Regions from separate parts of the Homo sapiens genome. Here regions 2, 3, 4 and 5 are each linked to region 1. Evidence: promoter capture Hi-C in 16 types of primary human blood cells and fetal thymus (Javierre and others, 2016). All regions are on one chromosome and are shown on one strand. The core of a region is centred on a gene start or on the middle of the fragment in contact, and the rest is flanking DNA. Distances in the headings are between cores, read along the strand shown. Region 1 holds the start of EDN2 (endothelin 2). Region 2 has its middle 5.6 kb from the start of GUCA2A. Region 3 has its middle 35 kb from the start of GUCA2B. Region 4 has its middle 52 kb from the start of GUCA2B. Region 5 has its middle 77 kb from the start of GUCA2B.

Region 1 (2,808 bases), core at 202-2,701:
CTCTGGGCACACCCTAGGAAGATGCAAACTTGCCTGTTCCTGGTGGTCACCTACTGTCCCCTTCATAAATGTCCAAGGACAAAGGAGCTGCTGAATACAGGAACTGAGCATTGGGCATCCTGGGTTCTGTAAGTGGAAAGCCAGGTGTGCATCTCTTGACCCCCCTGCCCTCAGGAAGCACTCGCAAGGCCCCTACTGTGTGCAGGGTAGGTGTCAGGCCCTGCCTCCTCTGGGGCTCTGGACCTTGAGATTGCAGGGGAGATAAGTGCAATGGGATGAGTCAGGCAGGCACGAGAGGCACAGGCCCTGGGAATTCCAAGAAACGAGAGGGCCTTTCCTGTTGTGCCTGGAGACAGGGTCCCTGAGAAGACTCCAGCAGGAAGTGGACTCTCAGCCAGGGCAGGAACAGAGGGTGCCTGCCGGTTCCCTGAGCTGCTCAGCACAGCTGTGGTTCATCCCTGCTTTCCCCTCCCCGGCAAGGCTTCTGGGCCAGCAGAGGGGCAGGAGCAGAATGCCAGTCCCCAGAGAAGTCCCCTGGCTTACTTCTTTTGCAGACAGTAGCCCCCGGTGGAAGCCAAGACATCCTGTCATGGCCAGGACAGGAGACTGTTCAAGGGGCGCTTTGTGTGTGTGTCCTCAGGGACATCTTTCTGGAAAGGGGTCTGAAGCCACCTTCTTAGTCTCAAAGGAGCCTGTAAGCCAAGCAGGTGAAGTACCTTCTTGTTTTGGCCTTGTTTGCAAACAAGGAAACAGGCCCAGGAAGGATGCCCTTGGCCATGGCTGCATAGCTGAACAGCTTCTGGAAGGGACTAGAACTCCTGCCCCAGGCCCTGGGGTGACAGGGCAGGGGTTGAGGGGGGCATTTCCTGGGTGAGGTGGGGATGAAGCAGTTCCAGGCTGGTCAGAAGTCAGGCATGAGCTGTGTCCTTCACAGAGGGAGGCAGGCCCAGAGAGGGCTCTGACTCGCCCAAGGCCACACAGCCTTGCGTGGGCCTTTCACATCCCACACAACAGAGGGGCATCCTCAGCCTGGTTGGCAGAGGGCAGGCAGGATAGATGGCAGAGTCTTCTCCGAGGAGAGGGGTTTTGCTCATGGAACCTCCTCCTCCACACTCACAGCCCTGGGCGAGACCTGTGGAGCAGCCGCCAACAGAGTGAGGGAGGGGGCTCGGGGCAGCTGGGGGTGACTTGAGGAAGTCCAGCTGGACTGCGAGGGGCCCCTGGGGACTGCCAGGGAGCCTCAGGACTCCCAGAGGTGCTCCAGGCACAGAGGGAGGAATGGGCCTTCCATCTCCCTCCCCCCTTCACTGCAGAGGCTGGGTCGGGCCAGGCGCCCGGGGAGGAGGCGGTGTCCCTGGCTCCCAGCCCGCCGGTGCAGCGGGGCAGGGCTGGACCAGAAGGGGTGGGGCACCGTGCCTGGTATAAGAGGCAGCCAGGGCACCGAGGCAATGAGCTATCTGCTCAGCTTAATAGCAGGACGCTGGCAACAGGCACTCCCTGCTCCAGTCCAGCCTGCGCGCTCCACCGCCGCTATGGTCTCCGTGCCTACCACCTGGTGCTCCGTTGCGCTAGCCCTGCTCGTGGCCCTGCATGAAGGTGAGCTGCCCTGGCCTCACCTGCTGCCTACAGCTCCTGGGTCTGCCTATCTCTGTCTCCCTCTAGGGCTGCAGTGCCTCCCAAGCCAGCTGGGGGCAGACAGGGGCGGGAGCCTGGCGGCAGTGGTGGCAGGGGAAAGGTTCTGCAAATACAGAGGTGCCCAGGCTCCCCACGGGCTGCTGGGACTTCCCTGGGCTGGCCTGGAGCTCTTGAGCAGCAAGAGTGCCAACTCCCTCGATTATGCAAGAGGAGGGGCATGGTGGGTCCCCCACTCTGGGATGTGCCAGGCACCCCAACCCACCTCTCCACCTCTCTCTCCCTCCTGTGCATGCAGGGAAGGGCCAGGCTGCTGCCACCCTGGAGCAGCCAGCGTCCTCATCTCATGCCCAAGGCACCCACCTTCGGCTTCGCCGTTGCTCCTGCAGCTCCTGGCTCGACAAGGAGTGCGTCTACTTCTGCCACTTGGACATCATCTGGGTGAACACTCCTGAGTGAGCATCCATGGGGATTGGGGGCAGGGGGAGCTCTGGGGCAGGGTGTCAGGGTGGAAGCTACTGGCATGCTAGGGAACGTTGACACATTCCATCTCTCCCTGGGCCTCCAGATGGAGGCACTGGCTAATATCAATAGTTAATTGTTTCAATTCCTGAGTGGGGACCACCTGAGCCATAGAGAGGGCTGTCTTCTGAGAATTCTTAAGACAGCCTGGTAAGCAAGTGTTGGCCCCGTTTTCCAGATTCAAGTGCTGAGGCTCAGAGAGCTTAAGCGCCTCCCCCAAGATCACACAGGTAATTGTAAGGGTAGGCACCATCCTCGGTTGGGGAATGCCGGAGCTCACAGTCTCTGTCATGCTGCCTCTGCATGCTCTTCCAATAATAATACGATTAGTGACAGCACCCGTGCTTTGACTATGCCAGGCTCTTTGCCAAGCACTGCACGTGCATGATCATCTCAGGAGCCCCCCCATCCTCCCCATAAGGCAGGATAGTCCCTCAAACGACAGATGAGAACCTGCCCTGTGCTACTGGCTACACCCGGGTGGGAGCCCCGTGCTGTCTGTTCCGCCTGCACCCGCACTGCCTCCAGGCCACTGCATACCTTCAGTTGAAGTTTCTGTGTGTGTTTGTGATTTTTTCCCCTCCCCAAATTGCAAAAGGCAAGAGAAGCCCTGCACGTAAGCGTGTGTGAAGCTAATCCGCATCCAAACACTTG
Region 2 (2,808 bases), core at 83-2,582, 690 kb before region 1:
ACCAGTTGCTTTTCCTGCCATTCTATGCTTCCAATCCACCCCCTGCCCTTCTGGGGCACTGCCAGGGGTGGAACACAGACCTCTCCTGGACCCATGCAGCAGCCATCGCTAGACAGTCCACTTTTAACGCCAAGTGCCAGGGCACTCCTTCTGAATCATGACTCTTACCAAGGCCTCCCCTACTCTGAAAACTCTTGTAGCTCCCTGCTGTCACCAGGTGAAGGGCAAAACTCCTCAGCCCAGTGTGTGAAGCCGCCTTCTCTGGGCTGCTGGCCCATGAGTCCTTGAGACACCCTCTGCTTTCACCTCAGCCGCCCCCGCTTTGCCATTTATGCTTCCTGCTGCCAGGCCTTTGCCTCGCGGCTCTCCCCTCGATGGGTCCAAATCTTCCCATTGATCAAGACCTGTTGCAAATGCCACCTTGTCAGGTAAAGCATTCTCTGATCTGGTGCCAGGAGGACTGGTAGCCTCGGCTTGTTCCTCCCTCATCCCAGGGAGTCTGTACCCATGCCCTACCCTCCCTGTAGCCTGTGGGCTCTGCGAGCGTCTTCTATGGGGGCAGGTGGAGGGAGCTCCAGCTGTGCTCTCCTTCCCTGTCAGCCTTTGGGTGTGGGAGGTTGTCTTGGTGGCCAATGCCCAAAGCAGGCTGGGGGATGCGGGAGAAGGCTGCAGCTGCTGTCCCACTGAGGGGGAGCAGATGGTGAACGGAGTTTCTTCACCGCCTCTTCCTGGTGAGGCCACAGGGCCCTGAGATGACATCGCTGAGCAAACAGCCAGGCACGCCCCCTGCCCACTCCCCAGCTGCCCCCTGGAGCATCAAGGGAAAGAGCCGGGCCACCCAGGGCCTGGGGGTGGGGGAGAGATCCCTCCACCCTAGCCTGGACTTGGGCTTCAGCCAAAAGGCTTCCAATTCCAACTCAGCCATCCACTTTCTGTGTGACATTGAGCACTCTTTCTGAGAGCCTCAGTTTCATCCTCTAAGATGGACATCATTGACCTACCTCACAGGGTCTGACTCAGTGGCGACTCCTTTCTTTTTCCTTTTCCCTAGAAGGGGGCAAAAATGGGTGTTTGGGACCAGGAAGACAGTGCAGAGGAATGGGATGGACTCAATAGAACTTTAGGCTTTTCTTTGGCAGTTGAAAGAAATGGATTCTGTTCTGGGATTTCTAGCTACGTGACCACAGTTGCCACCCAGTCCACCTGGCAATGAGTCTGAAGTATTGTGCTTTCCTCTAGGCTGAGGTAGTCGCATGCTTGTGTCCACACTTATGCTCTCTGTTGGTCGGGTACCCTTGTGCAGTGCACAACCAATACAACTGTACACAGCATCCCTGTATGCACCTTTGGGAAAATTATACTTTCTTAACCTCTCTGAGCTTCAGTTTACCCATGTATAAAATAGGGTTATGTAGTTATTTCTTAGGTGTTTCCAGTGCTGTCAGGAGGTTCACATATATTGTAATGTCTGCCTCAGGCAGTTCTGGATTCTTATAGGAACCAGAGATTGTTACACCCTCCAAGACACATTTACAAGCAGGTTGGAGAGGCTGTGTATTGTGGACCACACCCCTTTCAAGGTTACACAGATCTGTATTGGAGTCTTCAGGTTCCCACCTGGGCTCTGTTCCAGGCCTTCCTGCTGAGGTCCGATTAGGCCTCTGGGCCTGTGGGAATGGGGGGACTGAGGCTTAATGGTCCCAATTTTAATGTGCACACAGGAGCCATGATAAGATCACCTAGACACAAGAATCAAACATCAGCATCTTCACAGAGACTGGAGGGCTGCCCCAACAGCAGGGCAGAACCTCTGCAGCTTCTGGAAGTGGGTGAGGGGTGGCGGGGCTTTAGGGAGCAAGACTGGCTTCCACACTTGTAAAGCACTTGGCCAGAGCCTGGCACAGGGTGAGTCTTGACAAATATTAGCTGCTGTCATTAATGTGATGATCATTGCAAACATTACAACCTGCCTCATTCTTTAAAGACTCAGTGGTACCTACTAAGTGCCAGGCCTTGTATGAGTACAGGGCCTCAGTTGAGTAGGACACAGTCTCTGCTTTCAAGCAGCTCCCAGGGCAGTAGGCTAGACAGACAATTTGCTAAGTTTTGTGATGGCAAAGGTGTAGGAGGCTGGTGGAGCTCAGAGGAGTAGAAATGGTCTTAACTCGGGCTTGCCAGGGCTGGGGTCAGTTAGGAGAGTCTTCCAGAAAAACTGAAATTTGCAATCTAGCTGTTATTGTCTCCATTTTTTAAAGCAGAAACTGAGGCTCAGAAAGGTCATGGAGCATTTTTCCTCGCTCTGTCGCCCAGGCTGGAGTGTGGTGGTGCGATCTCGGCTCACTGCAACCTCTGCCTCATGGGTTCAAACAATTCTCCTGCCTCAGCCTCCCGAGTAGCTGGAACTACATGCATGTATCACCATACCCAGCTAATTTTTGTATTTTTAGTAGAGACGGGGTTTCACTATGTTGGCCAGGCTGGTCTTGAACTCCTGACCTCGTGATCCACCCGCCTCTGCCTCCCAAAGTGCTGGGATTACAGGCATGAGCCATCGCAAGCCTGGCCGGTGACACTGGATTCTAATACAGGGTTGCCTGGCTCCGAAGCCTGAGCCCTTGAAGCCACAGCACCCCAGGTTTAAGTCCCTCCTTCTGGGTCCACTCCAGGGAGTCCTTTGGGATCCTGGTTGAATGGAGAGCTCAGCAGGGGCCTGATCACAAAAACCCTGAATGCCAGGCAAGGGAGGCTGGCTTTCTTCCAAAGGGTTTGGGCAGCCACTGATGGGTTTTCAGAGGGGGAGGCAGGCAG
Region 3 (2,808 bases), core at 113-2,612, 630 kb before region 1:
GAATCTTGGAAAATGTAAGAATGGTACCAAGAACAAGGACTGTTTGAAGCCATGGGTCAAGCAACTTATCCAGGTAAACAAAAGGTCAGCAATCATTCGGCATCAATGGTCGTCTACAGTACGACCAAATTCAGTTCTAAGATGATAAATTAACCAAGTCTTTCAAACAGCAGAAATCATTGCACAGATTCTATCTCTCTTCTAGCTGTTCTAGCTAATTATAATGAGAGTCTGATGAAGTCTACTTAAAATTTCAATACTACTCACAGAGTGGGTCAATAGATCGCAATGACAGTCAATTAATAAGGTAATTCTGAGCTTGTGAGACTTAAAGAGTATATCATATCTGGGAAAGATACCAAATGTCAAAATTACAAATTTTACATGAAATAAGTCCTATTGATGCAATGAGTGAAACTTTATTATACAAGAAGATTAGGCCAATGAATAGAGGCTCAGGTTTGAGTCTCCTTGCACTGTGCAACCAGGTCCTGTTTCTCAACTGAGAGCTAATAGGTTGACATCCCAGAACTTGCAAACTTAGCTCCTCTGAGATGGTGTTTGTTTCTTCTTCTGAGTCTAGTAAGATGACTACATCCCGAAGAAGGTATAGATGAGCTCTGTTCAAAAGAACCATCTTCAATGGTGGAAATTTTCTTTATCTGTACTGCCCATATGGTAGCTACCAGCTATATGTAGCTATTGAGCACGTGAAATGTGACTGCCGGGGACTGAATTTTAAATTAAACTTAATTAATTTAAATTTAATTAGTTTAATTAATTTAAATAATTTAAATGGCTATTGGCTACTGCATTATGCAGAGGAGGTATATATCAGAGCTGGTAAAATTACTACAATTCTAGGAGGTAACCCCCCAGAACAGGGAAAAAACAAGAATAACAATAGGTAAAAGATAAAAATAGAGATGACCGAGAAATAAATTTAAGTCAGGGGCATTAGTATTTCTGTAAATAGTTTTAATATAATAGTAATAATCACACTTTAAACAATTGTGATATTTTGGGGGTGTTTAAGGTATTTAGGAGAATCTGATATGAGAGTTATGATCCTGAACACCTCAGAAGACTAAGTTAGTAGTCAGTTTTTGAGTGCTTGTGGAAACCTAATTTACTAAATCCATCAGTTATGATTTGTATTTTGTATGCATTTTGGGTGACTGAGAAGAATGTTAATGATTTCAGGTTTAAAATGATGCTAGCTTAGTAGAATTATAATATCAATAACCTGAATATTTAACAAAGTTCAGGGAGTAGTCAGTGTTCCTCTTCATGAACAATAGGCCCCTGGGTACACTTTTTCCTCTGGATTTTCCTACACTGGCTCTTTGCAGTTTGTTTCTAAATATAAATATGCTTTGCTTTAAGAAAATGCAGTGTGTGGCTTTGTGCCTTTATGACCCTGAACAGTTATATTCATGAGTTATACAATTCTTCTGGAAAGTCCACTGTTTCTAAAGAGACAATATCCTTTTATTCTGTCCTTCACAAGTGAGTGAAGTGTGCCCTGGTGGACTACCCAGCCTTGTCCACATGGAACTCATCCTGCCAGTAAGCTCTGCTGAATTCCCATTTGCTGACATCAAGACCGCAGCTTCTCAAGCACTTTTTAACTGGTAGGTTGAAGGAGAGCTTAGAAGTGGGGACACTAGAGCCAGACTGAGTTGGATTCAGTACCAGCTCTACCATTAAATCTGTGTGACCTAAAGCAGATGATTCTGTGCTTGGTGATGATGATACAAATAGCTACTTGGGTTTTGTTAGGATTAAATAAACTAGTTAATGTAAAGTACTTGGCATTATTATTAATTTCTCGATAAATACTCAAATTCACTGTTCTCAGTAAATCAGCTCAAATCGCCCCTCCACCTACAAGGCTAGTACTTGTGGCTCTTATTGTCTGACTTATCCAAAATGACATAGCAGTTTTCACTCTACCCTTGTCCCTCACCCCTTTCAATTCTGCTGTTCTTTTTGCAAATTACTTTATTGGGATGTTTTCTAAGCCCACTGTTCTCCAGTTTCAGTGAGTGGGGCTTTTCCCTCGTCCGTCCCCAGTCTGCTCTCCTCTTTCATGCCTCTTCATCTGTCTCCAAACTCCAGCACCTGCTCTGTGAGCTTACTCTCAGAGAAAACAGAAGCTGTCAGAAGAGAGTTTCTGCGACCTCCCTGCGCCACCGGCAGCACCTTCCAGCATCTGTACCTGCCGCTCTGCCATTCCTTTCCTTCCCGTGGATGAAGCATTTGTGTTCCCATCTATGACCAAGTTGACCATGGGTGCAATGGAGCGCAGCCTCCTCATGCATTTGAATGCTCCCGGCTCCTTTGTTGATCTCCCCTCTCTCCTGCATCCATTGTCAATTGTGTCTACTCCATCCTTCCCATCATCATGCAAACATGCCGAAACGTCTCTCTTCCTTTCTTCCCTTTGCATCAGAACTCATTGAGGAATTGCGTAACATATTGTCTCCATTTCCTCTTCTCCCCTGATCCCCTGAACCCTCTCTGCCCCTTCAAAGACATTGATTTCACCAAGATCATCAGGGACCTCCACATATTCATATCCAGAGGTCAATTCTTGGTCCTCATCTTACTTGACCTTTTAGTATGATTTGACACAGCTGATCTCTTTGTTCTCCTGAAACACATTTCCCCCTTGGCTTCCAGGACACCCCAATCTCCTTAATATTCCACTAAAAAGCCACCCATTCTCAGTCACCTTCATTAGCGTCTCCACAACCTCAGGCTTTAAATGTTGTGGTGCCCAGGGCTCAGTCTTTGGAGCTTTTC
Region 4 (2,808 bases), core at 145-2,644, 620 kb before region 1:
ATCCTTGTTTGTGAAGTGCCTATTCAAGTCTCTTGCCCATTTTTCTATTATATTGTCTGTCTTTTTTCTTACTGATTTGTAGGGACTTTTAATATACATGACTGTGAGCTCTTTATCAGCTCTCTTTTGTAAATACCTCCCACTCCATGGCTTCTCATTCCCTTAATGGCATGTTTTGAAGAAAGAAAGTTATTCATTTTAGCATAGTCCAATTTATCAATCTTTTGGTCATAAAGATCTTGTCCTATGTCATTTTCTAAGAAGGCGTTCTTCTCCCTATTGGGTGGTATTGGCAGCTTTGTCTTAAATCTAGCATCCATATGTGCACGAATTTGTTTATAGATAGTTTATGTTTGGTCTATTTGTCTATGTTTATTTTCCAATGCCACACTGTCCTATTTCCTGTACCTTTATAATAAGTTTCATTATCTGATAGCATACATCCTTTAGCTCTGCTCTTCTTTCTCTTCAAAATTGCCTTGACTCTTTGCATTTCAATAAAAATTTAGAGTCTGCCTGTCAATTTCCACAAAAATCAAAACCATCTGGGGATTTTATTGGGATCATTTTGAATCTATAGAGGGAGAGTGAACATCTTAACAATATTGTCTAATCATGAATATATTATATTTCTCCATTTATTTATTCAGTCTTTAACATATTTCAACAATATTTTTGAGTTTTTGGGTTGAGGTCTTACACATCTATTTTGAATCGAATTCTAGGTTGATTTGTTTTGTGATGCTATTGTAAATAGTATTTTTCTTAACTTTTTTTTTTTTTTAAATTATACTTTAAGTTTTAGGGTACATGTGCACAACGTGCAGGTTTGTTACATATATATACATGTGCCATGTTGGTGTGCTGCACCCATTAACTCGTCATTTAACATTTTATTTTCTAAAGGCTTGTTGCTGGTATATATAAATAAAATTTAAAAAACATATTGATTTTGTATGCACTGGCCTTGCTAAATTCACTATTTTTCTCTATCATTCAGTCATTTAATGACTTTATTTTAATTGTGGTAAAATACATATAACACGCAATATACTATCTTAACTACTTTAAGCTTAACTATCTTTAAGCGTGCAGTTTAGTGGCAGTAAGCACATTCCCATTGTTGTATCTTCACCACCATTCATCCACAGAACTCTTTTTGTCTTGTAAAACTGAAATTATGTACCTATTAAACTCATTTATTCATTTTGAACTGAGACATAATTCACATACCATAAAATTTACCCTTTATAAGTGTACAATTCAGTGGTTTTTTTTTTAAACCACTGATATTTGTTTTTTTCCAATTTGGGCTGAATGGAGAAAACTTTGTGAATGGTTTCACAAAGTTATGCAACCATTATCTAATTCCAGAGATGTTCAACTCTCCAAAAATAAACCCGTTCTCATTAGCAGTCACTCCCAATTCCCCTCTCCCCTCCTCCCTTCTTTATTTTTATCCTGTTTATCTTTGTATCTGTTCTTACACCAGCACTGCACTGTCTTGGCTCATTTGAAATTGAGAAGCGTGAGTCCTCTGAACTTGCTTTTCTTTTTCAAGATTGTTTTGGTTATTCTGCAGCCCTTATATTTCCATATAAATTTAGGATCAGTTTTCAATGTCTTCAAAAAAGACAACTGGAATTTGGTAGAGATTGCATTGAATCTGTAGATCAATTTGGGAAATATTGCCATCTTAATAATATTAAAGCTTCCCATCCTGTAACATGGGATGCCATTCCATTTATTTAGATCTTTAATTTCTTTCAATGATCTTTTGTAACTTTTATCATATAAATATTATACTTCTTTTACTGAATTTATTTCTAATTGTTTTATTCATTCTGATGTAATTATAAATAGATTTGTTTTCTTAATTTCCTTTTTGGATTTTTTTGTTGCTGATGTGTGGAAATAAAGTTAATTTCACTATATTGATCTTGTGTCCTGCAACCTTGCTGAATTTGTTTTTTAGCTCTATTTGCTTTTTAGTGGCTTCCTTAAAATTTTCTGTCTATAGAATAACGTCATCTATGAATACAGAGAGTTTTATGTCTTTTCCAATGTGAATTTAAAAAATTTCTTTCCATTGACTATTGCCATAGTTAGAATCTCCAGTGAAATGTTGAGTAGAAGTGGTGACAGTGGACATCCTATGTCTTGTTTTTGATCTCAGGAGGATAACTTACAGTCTTTTGCTATTAAGTATGATGTTAGTTGTGGGTTTTCGTAGTCAACTTTTTTCAGGTTGAGGAAGTTCCCTTCTATTCTTAGTTTGCTTAGTGTTTTTTTAATCATGAAAAGGTGTTGAGTTTTGTCAATGCTTTTTCTGCATCTATTGAGATGATCATGAGGTTTTTATCCTTTATTCCATTAATATGGTGCATGACATTGATTGATTTTTATATGTTGGGCCAACTATCATTCCTGTAATAAATCCCACTTGATCTTGTGTATAATCCTGTTATGTAATATTTTGTGGATTTGGTTTGTTAGTGTTTTGTTGAGGATTTTTGTGTCTATATTTATAAGCCATGTTGGTCTGCAGTTTCCTTGTGATGTTTTTATGTGGTTTTCGTGTCAGGGTATAATACTGGCCTCATAGAATGGATTGGAAAGTGTTTCATTCTCTTTTAGTTTTTGGAATAATTTGTGAAAGATTAATATTAATTCTTCTTTAAAAGTTTGGTGTGTTTCACTAGTTAAGGCATTGGGGTTTTCTTTGTGTGAATTACTACTAATTCAATTTCTTTACATGTTATAGGTTTATTCAGATTTTTTATTTCTTCTTGAGTCAGTTTGGTAGTT
Region 5 (2,808 bases), core at 159-2,658, 590 kb before region 1:
TATCTTAGACCATAATGGAATAAAACTAGAAATCAGTAATAAGAGGTACTTTGGAAACTGTACAAATACATGGGAATTAAGGAGCATGCTCCTGAATGACCACTGGGTCAATTTAAACATTAAGAAGAAAATTAAAAAATTTCTTGAAACAAATTAAAATGGAAATGCAACATACCCAAACCTATAGAATACAGCAAAAGCAGTGGTGAGGGATGTTTATAGCAATACATGTCTACATCAAAAAAGTAGAAAGATTTCAAATAAACAATCTAATGATGCACCTTAGGGAACTAGAAAAGGAAGGACAAACCAAAACCCCAAACTAGCATGAGAAAAGAAATAATAAATGTTAGAGCAGAATTAAACAAAATAGAGACTGAAAAAACAGTACAAAGGATCAATGAAACAAAAAAAATTGCTGTTTTGAACGGATAAGCAAAATTGATAAACTGCTAACCAAGGAAAGAAGACAGAAGACCCAAATAAACAAAATCAGACATGAAAAAGGAGATATTACAACTGGTATCATAGACATGTAAAAGATCATCAGACACTATTTTAAACAATTATATACTAACATAATGGAAAACCTAGATGAAATGAATAAATTCCTGGACACATACAACCTACCAAGATTGAATCAGGAAGAAATAAAAAACCCAAACAGACCGATAACAAGTAACAAGATTAATCAGTAATAAACATTCTTCCAACAAAGTAAAGTCTAGGACTGCATGGCTTCACTGCTGAATTCCTCCAAACTTATAAAGTAGAAATAACACCAATTCTCCTTAAACTATTCCAAAGCATTAAAGAGAAGGGAATTCTCCCTGACTCATTCTATGAGGCCAGTATCACTCTGATGCTGAAGCCAGACATGGACACACCAAAAGAAAGAAAACTACAGGCCAATATCCCTGATTAACACAGATGCAAAAATCCTCAACAAAACATGAGAAAACCAAATCCACATATCAAAAAGATACTACATTATGATCAAGTGTAATTTATCCCAGGGGTGCAAGGATGGTTCAACACATGCAAATAAATAAATTTGACATACCACATCAACAGAATGAAGAAGAAATACCATATGATCATTTCAACAGATACAGAAAAGCATTTGATAAAATTTCACATCTCTCTATGATAAAAATTCTCAACAAACTAAGCGTAAAAGGAACTTACCTCAACATAATAAAGGCCATACGTGAAAAACCCACAGCTGACATCATACTAAATGGGGAAAAGCTAAAAGAACTGGAGCAAGATAAAAATTCCCACTTTCACCACTTTTATTTAACATACAGCTGGAAGTCCTAGCCCTTCCAAATCGGAAAAGAGGAAGTCAAATTTTCTCTCTTTCAGATGACATGATTTTATATTTAGAAAAACCTAAAGACTTCACCAAAATATTCTTAGATCTGATAAACAACTCAGTAAAGTTTCAGGATACAAAATAAATATACAAAAATCAGTAGCATTTCTATACACCAATTAAAAAAACTATCTGAGAAAGAAACCAAGAAAGCAATCCCATTTATGATTGCTACAGAAAAAATATACCTAGGAACACATTTAACCAAGGGTATGAAAGATCTCTTCAAGGAAGATTCAAAACACCTGATGAAAGAAATTAAAGAGAACACAAACAGATGGAAAGATATCCCATGCTCATGGATCAAAAAGCTAGTAATGTTAAAATGATTGTGCTGCCCAAAGCAATCTACAGATTCAATGCAATTTGTATGAAAACACCAATGACATTTTTCATGGAAATAGAAAAAAACAACTGTAAAATTAGTATGGAACAAAAAGAGATCCAAAGCAATCTTGAGCAAAAGAACAAAGCCAGAGGCATCACCCTGCCTGACTTCAATATATTGCAAGGCTATGATAACCAAAACAGCATGGTATTGGTATAGAAACACACACAGAGACCAATAGAGCAGAATAGAGAACCCAGAAATAAATCCATGTATTTACAGCCAATTGATTTTTGACAAAGACTCCAAGAACATACATTGGAGAAATGACAACCTCTTCCATAAGTAGTGCTGGTAAAACTGGGTATTTATATGCAGAAGAGTGAAACTAGACTCCTGTCTCTCACATGTACAAAAATCAACTCCAGATGGATTAAAGACGTAAATGTAAGACCCCAAACTACATATCTACTAACATGGGGAACACTCCAAGACATTGGGCTAGGCAAAGGTTTTATGGCTGAGACCTCAAAAGCACAGGCAACAAACACCAAAATAGACAAATGGGACTATGTTTTTTGCAGAGGTTTTACCTTTCTGCAAAGGAAACAATCAACAGACTGAAGACAACCTGTTGAATGGGAGAAAATATTCATCCAACAAGGGACTAATATCTAGAATATACAAGGAACTCAAGCAGCTCAACAGCAAAAACACCAAATAGTTCCATTATAAAGTGGGCAAAGGATCTGAACAGACATTTCGCAAAAGAAGACTTGCAAATGGCCAGCAGGAATATGAAAAAAATGCTCAACATCAGTAATCATTAGGGAAATGCAAATCAAAACCACAGTAAAATATCATCTTACCCCAGTTAGAATGGCTATTATCAAAAAGACAGAAATAACAGATGCTGTCAAAGATGCTGAGAAAAGGGAACACTTATTAATTGCTAGTGGAAATGTAAATTAGTACAGCCATCAATATGGAGAGTTCTGAAAAAACTAAAGTAGAAGTACCATATGATTCAGCAATCGTACTACTAGATACTTTTTTAAAAGAGGAAATCATTGTGTCAAAAGGATACCTGCACCCCATGTTT

Evidence for each region. The method cuts DNA at HindIII sites, captures the fragments that hold promoters and counts their contacts. A CHiCAGO score of 5 or more calls a contact.
Region 2: a fragment that was not itself captured here is called in contact with the fragment with the promoter of EDN2 in region 1 in 1 of 17 cell types (neutrophils); the score reaches 6.4 in neutrophils.
Region 3: a fragment that was not itself captured here is called in contact with the fragment with the promoter of EDN2 in region 1 in 7 of 17 cell types (M2 macrophages, naive B cells, neutrophils and 4 more); the score reaches 6.7 in M2 macrophages.
Region 4: a fragment that was not itself captured here is called in contact with the fragment with the promoter of EDN2 in region 1 in 1 of 17 cell types (naive B cells); the score reaches 5.1 in naive B cells.
Region 5: a fragment that was not itself captured here is called in contact with the fragment with the promoter of EDN2 in region 1 in 1 of 17 cell types (neutrophils); the score reaches 5.1 in neutrophils.

The regions. Positions count from the first base shown.
Region 1 is chr1:41,483,326-41,486,133 of GRCh38, reverse strand. It overlaps EDN2 (endothelin 2), which reads left to right and starts at 1,451. Exons shown (of 5, transcript NM_001956.5): 1 at 1,451-1,596; 2 at 1,931-2,087. The coding sequence starts at 1,533. RefSeq lists an enhancer at 1-344. The HindIII fragment of the contact is 6,202 bases long and covers 1-2,808 here.
Region 2 is chr1:42,168,891-42,171,698 of GRCh38, reverse strand. No RefSeq gene overlaps it. Among named protein-coding and RNA genes, the nearest start is that of GUCA2A, 5.6 kb to the right of the region's middle. The HindIII fragment of the contact is 3,327 bases long and covers 1-2,808 here.
Region 3 is chr1:42,117,064-42,119,871 of GRCh38, reverse strand. No RefSeq gene overlaps it. Among named protein-coding and RNA genes, the nearest start is that of GUCA2B, 35 kb to the left of the region's middle. The HindIII fragment of the contact is 6,007 bases long and covers 1-2,808 here.
Region 4 is chr1:42,099,517-42,102,324 of GRCh38, reverse strand. No RefSeq gene overlaps it. Among named protein-coding and RNA genes, the nearest start is that of GUCA2B, 52 kb to the left of the region's middle. The HindIII fragment of the contact is 639 bases long and covers 1,075-1,713 here.
Region 5 is chr1:42,074,912-42,077,719 of GRCh38, reverse strand. No RefSeq gene overlaps it. Among named protein-coding and RNA genes, the nearest start is that of GUCA2B, 77 kb to the left of the region's middle. The HindIII fragment of the contact is 7,081 bases long and covers 1-2,808 here.